Linked DNA regions of Homo sapiens: regions 1 and 2 are each linked to region 3. Evidence: promoter capture Hi-C in 16 types of primary human blood cells and fetal thymus (Javierre and others, 2016). All regions are on one chromosome and are shown on one strand. The core of a region is centred on a gene start or on the middle of the fragment in contact, and the rest is flanking DNA. Distances in the headings are between cores, read along the strand shown. Region 1 has its middle 17 kb from the start of MIR6719. Region 2 overlaps LEUTX (leucine twenty homeobox). Region 3 holds the start of TTC9B (tetratricopeptide repeat domain 9B).

Region 1 (3,333 bases), core at 73-2,572, 410 kb before region 3:
AGTGCAGTGTCCAGGATCATAGCTCACTGCATCCTCGACCTCCAGGCCTCAAGCGACCCTCCCACTTCAGCCTCCCGAGTAGTTGGAGCTACAAGCACACGCCACTGAGCCCAGCTAATTTTTGCATTTTTTGTAGAAATAGGGTTTCACCATGTTCCCCAGGCTGGTCTTGAACTTCTGGCCTCAAGCAATCCTCCCGTCTCAGCCTCCCAAAGTGCTGGGATTACAAGCAGGAGCCACCATGCCCAGCCTAAATTCATCTTTTTCTTGTACATCTGTTGTTCCTTCATTTTCACTGCTGTGTAATTGTCCGTCATGTGAGATATACTAAAATTTATCAATTCTCCTTTAAATGGACATCAGATGTGTTTCTTTTTGCTATCAGATAAATGCTTTACAAAAGCATACAAAAGTTGACAGATGAACTTTGTATACTTGATCTTAGCCAAAGGCTGAGAAGAGATACTATGAACTTTAACATCTCAATCGATGCATGTGGTCAAATATCTCTTCTTGGGTAAGGACCTAGGAGTGCCAAGCATATGGGATTCAGATTTTCAATTTGGTTCAGTTTTTCAAAATAACAACAAACTACTTCCCAGAGGGTTGTACTAATTTGAACTCCCATCAGCAACATATGAGATGTCCTGTGAATCCCCATCCTCACCTACAGCCATCTTAACTTTTGTCAATTTGAGGCTGTGAAACAGAATTTTAGTGTGGCCTTTTTTTCTTTAGATGTTCCATATAATTAGGGGCTGGCTTTTAGTCAGATGGCTGGGACCAAACGATTGAGGAGGAAGGGAATTTAGAGGGTGACTGTAATGATGAATCTATAATTGGTAGGGGACAGTGGGCAGGGTGGGATGGAAAAAGGAGAGCCATGATGGACAGGGAGAGTGTGGGAACGTGGCCTGGAGGTTGCGCTGGAAGCAGAGGTGGTACTTGAACAAGCAAGCTGGAAGGAGAGGAAGTGGATTTCAGTTTCCTGATCTTTGTCTTGCTCTGATTAGGGATGAGTTGGAACATCTTTTCATGTCAATTACAAAACTACTGAAGCAACCAAAGAATCTCAAAGGAAAAGACCGACAGACTATTTTTAAAATTACTTTATTTAAAGCAATGTTTCTATGCAATTTAAATAAAAGAAATCTCTGGAGAAAAAAAAAATCTCTTTATCACAATCTATGTTGTACCCAAAACTGATATAACTTAACAAAGAAAAGACCAAGCCCCCGTTCAGGAATGTGCCATTGGTAAAGGGCAAATCCTGAGAGGAGCTACAGGGTAGCTCAGAGACAGGTGGGCAGAGCAATTCTACAGAAGGCAGATGTGATCCATGGCATGGCTACTGCACGCCCAGCAGGAGTCGAAGCAGCAGGAGATGCTGTGCTGGTGGCTGGGCCATCAAAATGAGGCCTCTGAGGCTGGCTTCACAGTCCAGTTGTGAAATGTGCACGACCCACATCTCACGTGTCATTTATTAATGCAGTATATTCACTGACTGTGTGCCAGGCTCTGCAGATAATGTGGCAACCAAGATAGACTCTGCCCCCATGCTCATGGATTTATTGTCCAAAGATGAGACAGACGCAGAGATGCTGACATCACAGCTGGTCAAGGTGGGACAGGGGAGAGGCAGACAGATGGGTCAAGGCTGGGATGGGAGAAACCCCAGGAGCTGTGGAAGCTCAGAACGGGCCCCCCACCCACCCTGGGGGACCAAGGGGGCTTCCTAAAGGAGACACCTTTACTGAGACCTGAACAGTGTATGGAATTAGTTGTGGGGAGGTGGGTGAAAGAAGGGTGCTCCAAAAAGAGGGAGAAGCACGTACAAATGCCCACAGGTGACAGGGAGTCGGGAGTGTTCTAGACCAGCATGATCCAACAGAAGAGTAACACGAGCCATACATGTGAGCTGCAAAGCTAATTAAACATTTTCTAATAGCCCAATTAAAAAAACCATAAAATTAATTGTAATTTTAATAATATATTTTATTTAACTCAATATATCCAAAATATTACCATATCAGTATGTGATCAATATAAAACATTTTTTTTGTACCAAGTCTTTAACTCTGGTGGGTATTTATGCTTAAAATATATCTCAAGTCACACGAGCCACATTTCAAGTGCCCAGGAGCCACATGTGGCCAGTGGCTCCTGTACTGTACTGAAGAGCAGGGCAACACCTTTGCTACTCAAAGCCTTGGCATCATTTGGGAGCTTGAAATGCAGAATCTCAGGCCCCTTCCTCAACCCACCGAAGCGGAATCTACATTCAAAATCCCAGATGCACATCAGAGTTTGAGAGAAATGGGTCCAGTTCTGCCTAAAATACTTCTGTGGCTTCCTACTGCCCTCATGATAAATGTCCAGCTATTGAGGTTGGCAATCATTCATTCACTCCTTCATTTACTCATTCATTCAGCGCATGGTTACTGAGCACCTACTGAGTGCCAGGCCCTGTGCTGGGTGATGTTGAGGACTCACCGACGGTACAGACAGACCTGATTCTGACCCTGCTGGAACTCCCAGACAGTTAATAAATGAGTAGCCAAATCACTGTTTCATTTGGACTATGTGAAACATAATATGCTTAATGTGAATTTGCAGTGTACAAGGAGTGTCAGGGAAGGTCTGACCCGATTTGAGTGGAAAGGGATCCAGAAAAATAACCCAAATAAGGGAAGAGGCCACCACCATGGCGAAAGGCCACAAGCAGATTAAATGTCCTATTGCAGAGGACAGGATTGCCAAGCAACTCCAGCCCATTCATGGTCATTAAGAAGGATCGTTTTCAGGCTTCAGAGAAATGTGGAGAAACGCCTGGAGTATAGGGTTACAGAAAATGAGCCAGGGACAGAGCTGGTGCGGTGATATCACCCCATGCACAGACTTGTCTGAATTTGGAAAATGAGGAGAAAGGAGGGGATCAGAGAATCAGGAAGATGGGCAATTTGTCAGTAGGGAATGACTTGGGGCAAGAAATTGCAGGTTATCTTTTTTTAGGAAAATTTAAAAATCCCTTAACAAAACATATCTAGATTTGCTTTAAAAATAACTGAGGCCGGGCACGGTGGCTCACAACTGTAATCCCAGCACTTTGGGAGGCTGAGGCAGGCGGATCATGAGGTCAGGAGTTCAAGACTAGTCTGGCCAACATAGTGAAACTGTCTCTACTAAAAATACAAAAAAATTAGCCAGGTGTGGTGGTGTGCGCCTGTAATCCCAGCTACTCAGGAGGCAGGAGAATTGTGTGAACCTGGGAGGCGGAGGTTGCAGTGAGCAGAAATCGTGCCATTGCACTCCAGCCCGGGCAACAGTGTGAGA
Region 2 (2,989 bases), core at 162-2,661, 430 kb before region 3:
CATCTTTAATGGTTTGACCCCAGTCTAAGTAGATCAGGGGCTGGGAATTTATCTTTTTCTGTAGAAAAAACAATAAAGGAACTCCCCTACCTTTCATCATTGCCTGCATTTTCTGAACTCCATTTGAGTGCCTCCTCACCCAAATTTCAGCATTAAAGATTGTATTCAGAGAAGTGACGCCAGGAACACAGTGACATAGGAGGTTCCTGATTGATGGACTGAATAAACGTCTGTGCCTACATCAGTTCTCTCTGGAAGAAAGTCAGAAGTGAGTGGAGAGACTCCTACACACCAGGCAACTAAGAAAATGTCTTAGCAGGCCAGTCGCGGTGGCTCACGCCTGTAATTCCAGCACTTTGGGAGGCCAAGGTGGGTGGATCACGAGGTCAGGAGATCAAGACCATCCCGGCTAACATGGTGAAACGCTGTCTCTACTAAAAATACAAAAAATTAGCTGGGTGTGGTGGTGGGCACCTGTAGTCCCAGCTGCTTGGGAGGCTGAGGCAAGAGAATTGCTTGAACCCGGGAGGCGGAGGTTGCGTGAGCCAAGATTGCACCACTGCACTCCAGCCTGGGCGACAGAGTAAGACTCCATCTCAAAAAAAAAAAAAAAGAAAAGGAAGAAAAGACAAGAAAAAAAATGTCTTATCAAACAGGCAGCAAAAGCTGAAGCACTCAGAAACACTAAACCCACCCTGGGCACTGAGCCATACAATCAGGAAGGAATCCCCAGTTCCCAGCTTCTCCCCCAGGAGAGAAGCAGTGAACCACACATATAGCACCCTAACAGTTGATGGTTAAGTTCCTAACGAGCCTGCATCAGGGAGTTGACTAGGTAGGTAAACTACAGACTTACAAGAGCCTGAACAGAAGCTAGGTGCCACCCAAAGCTTCACCCCAGCTCAGCCCAGCAATAAATCCAGGTCTATCAATTCCTCCTGGAAGAAGTTTGTCCACACATTGAGCACCCCAACTTTTATACCTGCACTCAAGGGACTGCATCCTAAATCCCCTAGCTCTGGAAATGGAAGGGATTAGGCATATGTGAGTCTCCCTAGCTCACAGAGAAAAAGGTGGTTTTAAGCAGGCACACAAGCACTTCAGGGCTAGCCTTCCTCCACCACACTCCCCCAACCAGAGCAGTGCAGAGAAGGGGTCAAAATGTACAGCTCCCAGTTACTCCTCAAAAAGGATTTGCCAGCACACTCTTCCAGCTGCTGCTTGATAGTCATGCTTTTAACCAGCCTGTATCTGGAAGTCAACAGGGCAGACAAATGCTGGATCCTTGGGAGCCTGAATGGGAGTTCAGACACTGTCCAAGCCTTTTGCCCTTGCTTGCTCTAGTGGTAAGTCTACAGACTCTCCCTGGAAGGAGTTTTTCCATGCAGTGAGCACCCAAATTTTTGCAGCTTCCACGGCATCCTAAATCACCTATCTCTGGGAACTGAAGGGATTTGACATTCACTAGTCTCCCTAGATCACAGCAAAGAGGTGATTTTAAACTGATGCACAAGCATTTCCAGGAGATGAGAATAGTCCCAGGGACCTGAGGCTGAACACACCTAGCTGGCCACTACCACCTCAGGTGGCATCTACTTGCATGTGCCACTTACAGGCCTGGAGACTGGCCTGCTCAGCCCGTCACAGCCATCACCAACACTAGCACAAGCTGATTGGGAGCTAGATTGTCCTGCCAATATTACTGCCATTGCCCATGCCACCCTTGCTGCCCAGTGGCCCCAGGAACTACGCACCTACCTGGCCTACGGCTGGCAATGCCAGCACCCAAGAAAGCCACCTGGAAGCCTGGGAATTGGCCTACCTAAACCTGCTAAACCTGTGCCAGCGTACACCACCCTGGGACTCAAGGACAGGCTCACCACTGCCACCACTGGGCCCGAAAACCGGCCCACCTGACATCCCCTATCCCAGAAAAGCTTCACAGCCTCCACCAACAACTGCACCTTAAGCCACGGAGGAAATAACACTACTGATGTTGCTTACAGCCAAATAAATCATACAGAGACTATACCTGGATAAAGAATTCAAAATAATGATATTAAAGAAGCTCAGTGAGATACAAAAGAACTCAGAAAAATAATACAAACAAATCAGAAAAACAATTCAGGATATGAATGAGAAATTTACCAAAGAGATAGATATAAAAAAGAACCAAACAAATTCTGGAAATGAAGACTTCATTGAATGAAATACAAAATATATTTGAAAGCTTCAACAACAGACTAAATCAAGTAGAAAAAAGAATTTCAGAACTTGAAGCCATATCTTTTGAAATAACCCAGGAAGACAAAAATAAAAAAGAATTTAAAAAGAATGATAAAAGCCTTCATGACATATGATACCATAAAGCAACCAAATTTTCAAATTACTGGGGTCCCAGAAGGCAAAGAGAGAGAAAAGGGTAAGAAAGTATTTAATAAAATAATAGGCCAGGCACAGTGGCTCACGCCTGTAATCTCAGCACTTTGGGAGGCCGAGGAGGGTGGAGCACCTGAGGTCAAGAGTTCAAGACCAGCCTGGCCAACATGGTGAAACCTGGTCTCTACTAAAAATACAAAAATTAGCTGGGTGTGGTGGTGCACACCTGTAGTCCCAACTACTTGGGAGGCTGAGGCAGGATAATTGCTTGAACCAAGGAGGCGGAGGTTGCAGTGAGCCGAGATCACGCCACTGCACTCCAGCCTGGCAACAGAGCGAGACTCCATCTAAAAACAACAACAAAAAGTGTGATTTATACACAATGGAGTACTATTTGGCCATTAAAAAATAATTTAAAAAAATGAAATCCTGTCATTTGCAACATAGATGAGCCTAAAGGACATTATGTTAAATGAAATAAACCAAACACAGAAAGACAAATACCACATGATCTCATACACATGTGGAATCCTAAAAGGTGGATCTGACACCTTACTTACACCTTACTCCTGCAAGAATGGCCATAATCAAAAAATAACAAAATCAAAGA
Region 3 (3,396 bases), core at 410-2,909:
CACACACACCCCAATTTCCTGGCATCGTCCACCCGAGTGGATGAGTGGATGGTGCAGGAAGTGAATGAATAGGTGTGCGTGAATGGGTGAGTGGAGGAATGAGTGTGTGCGGTAGGCAGGGGTGGGACGGGGTAATGGAGATGACAGTGGGTGGATAGGGAAGTGACTGAGCAGGTGAATAGGAGATATCAGATGTGGCAATGACGGTAGATGAGAAATGGCCGGGGAGATGTCAGAGGAGCGATAGGTGGACGGATGTTTGAATGGCGGGTGAAGGGCGGGGTGGATGAATGGATGAGTGGGCGTGTAGGGAGTAGGTGGGTGGCGCAGCCCTACCTAGAAGCAGCTCCGCGGGAGGAGGGCTCTGCTATTCTGCCCTGATCTTCCTGCCTGTTCCCTCCGCTGCAGCCCCTTTCCCCGCCCTGGGCCCAGCCCTCACCTCTGCCCCGCCCCGCCACTCACCTGTGGGTTCCCGGCTGCGGGCCTCCTGCAGGTAGCGCAGCGCGCGTGCGTAGTCGCCCAGGTGGTAGAAGGCAATGCCGGCACGGTAGGTGGCCTTGAAGTTGCCCTGCTGCTTCTCCAGTACCTTGAGACAGTACTCGCGCACGCGCTCGTAGTTTACCAGCTCCGACTGCAGCAGGCAAGCTGCGAGGGCCCCGCGGCCGGCACTCTCAGAGCCTGCTGGCACCCCCAGAACCCACCTGACTGCGAGGAGCCGAGGCTCCAGGCGGCAGGGAACCAGGCCTAAGGGATTGCTCCGGCAACCAGGGGCGCCAATCCGCTCGCCTATCGAAACAGGCGCAACTGCGCCGCTGCTAGGGGGCGCCAAAACACGGACAGGCGCCACTGGGCGATCCACCCAGAGCTGTCGGTGGGCAAGAGCACTAAGGCCCCGCGCGGGGGCGAGGGCCGGGACCTCGAGAGCCTGGCTCAGGGCAGACTTCCTCACCTTGGGTCCACGTGCGGCCAGGGGGTGGAAAGAATGACTCAGGGGAAGCGAGGCCCTGAATACCCGACCCAAAGACCATTTCCTGCATCCCAGCTCCCTCCAGCCACAGACCCCTGTCATCCCCTACCCCTAATCCCTTTCCTTGATCAAGCTCTGAAGGCTCCCCCAGAAGCCCACAGCCCTGGACCCTTCAGCCCCAGGGCCCCTGGCCCCCAAGTCGCCAAGCTCTCCCGATTGCCCCCTCCCCTCGTGCCCCATCCCCCCACCCCCCGACGGCGTACCCGTGAGGGAGTCGTAACACTCCACCTCCGTGCTCTCCACCAGGCGCCGCTGCTCCTCGCTGAGGCGCGCCGGCCCGGGGCTGCTGGTGGGCCCGGGGGCGGGGGCGGGCAGGCCGCTAGGGCGGGCCCCCTGCGCCGCCTTCAGCTGCAGCAGCGCTCGGTGGTACTTGCCGATGGCCTCCCGGAACTTCTTCTCTCGATAGCAGCGCTGGCCCTCTGCCTTGAACGCCACGGCGGCACGCAGGCTGCTGTCGAGCGCCGCGCCCAGGCTCCCCGACGGCTCTGGGGTAGGACCGGGACGAGCCGAGCCATGGCGGGAGCCCGAGCCTGGGCCCGAGCCCGGTGGGGAGAGGGCGGGAGGCGGGCGCGGCGGAGGCTCCGGGGCAGCGCTGAGCATCAGCACCGGGGACAGCGCGCCGCGCTGCATTGTGGGAAACTCCTGCCGCCGCCGCTGCAGCTACCGCATCGCCCCCCGCGGGGCTGGTCCCCACCCTTTCTCCGCCCCCTCACCTCCGGCAGCCGACTCCGGCTGCCCCCTATGGGTCTAGGGAAACCCCTCGAGACTTCCCCCATGCTCACTCTCAAATTAACCAAGTCCTAGTTCTCCAGCCCGCCCCCCGAATTGTTCCCATTCCCCTTACCCTCCCCAACCTCCTGCCTGCTCTCCTCCCCGGTGCCCAAAGCTCCCGAAGATTTCTAGAAGGAAAGGACGAGCCTGGGGGAAAGAGCAGGAAGACATCAGCCTCACGGAAAGCTGGCTCTCAGCCCACTGGCCATTTGGCATATCGAATGAGAACACAGGATTTGGACCCAAGCTTCCCAAATTCAAATCCCTGCTTACTTTCTCACTAGTGGTATGACTTAGACAGCTCGCTTAAACTACCTGGAACTCTGTATCCTCATCAGTAACATGGCACAATAATATCACCTTTAGGGCCAGTCGAGGTGGCTCACGCCTGTAATCCCAGCACTTTGGGAGGTCGAGGTGGATGGATCGCTTGAGGTCAGAAGTTTGAGACCAGCCTGGCCAATATGGCAAAACTCCGTCTCTACTAATATACAATATATACAAAATTTTTGTATATATACACAAAAATTAGCCTGGTGTGGTGGCGTGCACCTGTAGTCCCAGCTACTCGGGAGACTGAGGCAGGAGAATCACTTGAACCTGGGAGGCAGAGGTTGCAGTGAGCCGAGATTGTGCCACTGCACTCCAGCCTGGGTGACAGAGGGAGATGCCGTCTCAAAAAAGGAAAGGAAAGGAAAGGAAAGGAAAGGAAAGGAAAGGAAAGGAAAGGAAAGGAAAGGAAAGGAAAGGGGAAAGGGGAAAGAGGAAAGAGAAAAAAGGAAAGGAAAGGAATTAAAAATAATACCACCTTTGGGATTCATCTGTTAATTTATGAAACAAATATTCACTGACATCCTTTCTGTGCCCAGCTCTGTGCTGGATGATGCTGGGACATAGCAGACACTGCGTGAGCTTCAGACCCTACTCTCACTGGGCCCCAGTTCAGTGGGAAGACAGACCAGTGACCAGACAGTGACAGCCCTGAGCAGGCTAGCCTGGGAAGCACAGGCAGAGGGGTCGGGGCCGAGGTGGAAGAGGCACAGGCAGAGGGGTCGGGGCTGGGATGTGGGAGGTACCTGCCCTGGGCTGAGGTGGTGATAAAGTCTTCCTGGAGGAGGGAATAACTCTAAAAACAAGAGAGATCTCCTTCTTGCCCTCATCCAGCTCGGCTGTCTATGGGGGAAAACAAGTGAGAGGGCAAACAAGTCCCCAGGAAAGGAAGCATGCAGGAGGCTTTCAAGAAAAAAATCGAGGATGAATGAGTCAACTGCCCTTCAGTCCTCCTTTGCCGCCTCCTTAGCTGTGGGACCTGGGCCAAGTTCCTCGATCCTCCTCCTTCGGCTTCGTCTGTGCGACATGAGGATAGAAGGCAAGTTAACCTCAGAGCGGTTGCAGAGACTGAATTATCTTATGCAGGTAAGGCACTTAGCACAGGGCTTCATACATTAATGGGCAATTAACAACTGGTGTTTCTTATCGTCCATTAGACTCTGAGTCATGTGATCATGAGTGCCTGGCTCTGAGTCAGCATCCATATATAGTTGTTGAATGAATGAGTGTGTGAGTGAATGGCATTATGCATTACTACTCCTCCCCCT

What was found. The method cuts DNA at HindIII sites, captures the fragments that hold promoters and counts their contacts. A CHiCAGO score of 5 or more calls a contact.
Region 1: a fragment that was not itself captured here is called in contact with the fragment with the promoter of TTC9B in region 3 in 1 of 17 cell types (neutrophils); the score reaches 5.9 in neutrophils.
Region 2: a contact is called between a fragment that was not itself captured here and the fragment with the promoter of TTC9B in region 3, in 1 of 17 cell types (neutrophils). The highest score is 5.8, in neutrophils.

Annotation. Positions count from the first base shown.
Region 1 is chr19:39,810,998-39,814,330 of GRCh38, forward strand. No RefSeq gene overlaps it. Among named protein-coding and RNA genes, the nearest start is that of MIR6719, 17 kb to the right of the region's middle. The HindIII fragment of the contact is 7,090 bases long and covers 1-3,333 here.
Region 2 is chr19:39,786,196-39,789,184 of GRCh38, forward strand. LEUTX (leucine twenty homeobox) reads left to right here. Exons shown (of 3, transcript NM_001382345.1): 3 at 1-96. Among named protein-coding and RNA genes, the nearest start is that of LEUTX, 8.8 kb to the left of the region's middle. The HindIII fragment of the contact is 1,047 bases long and covers 889-1,935 here.
Region 3 is chr19:40,216,725-40,220,120 of GRCh38, forward strand. TTC9B (tetratricopeptide repeat domain 9B) reads right to left here and starts at 1,660. Exons shown (of 3, transcript NM_152479.6): 1 at 1,231-1,660; 2 at 463-645. The coding sequence starts at 1,657. RefSeq lists enhancers at 528-1,118, 2,697-3,396. The HindIII fragment of the contact is 9,686 bases long and covers 1-2,043 here.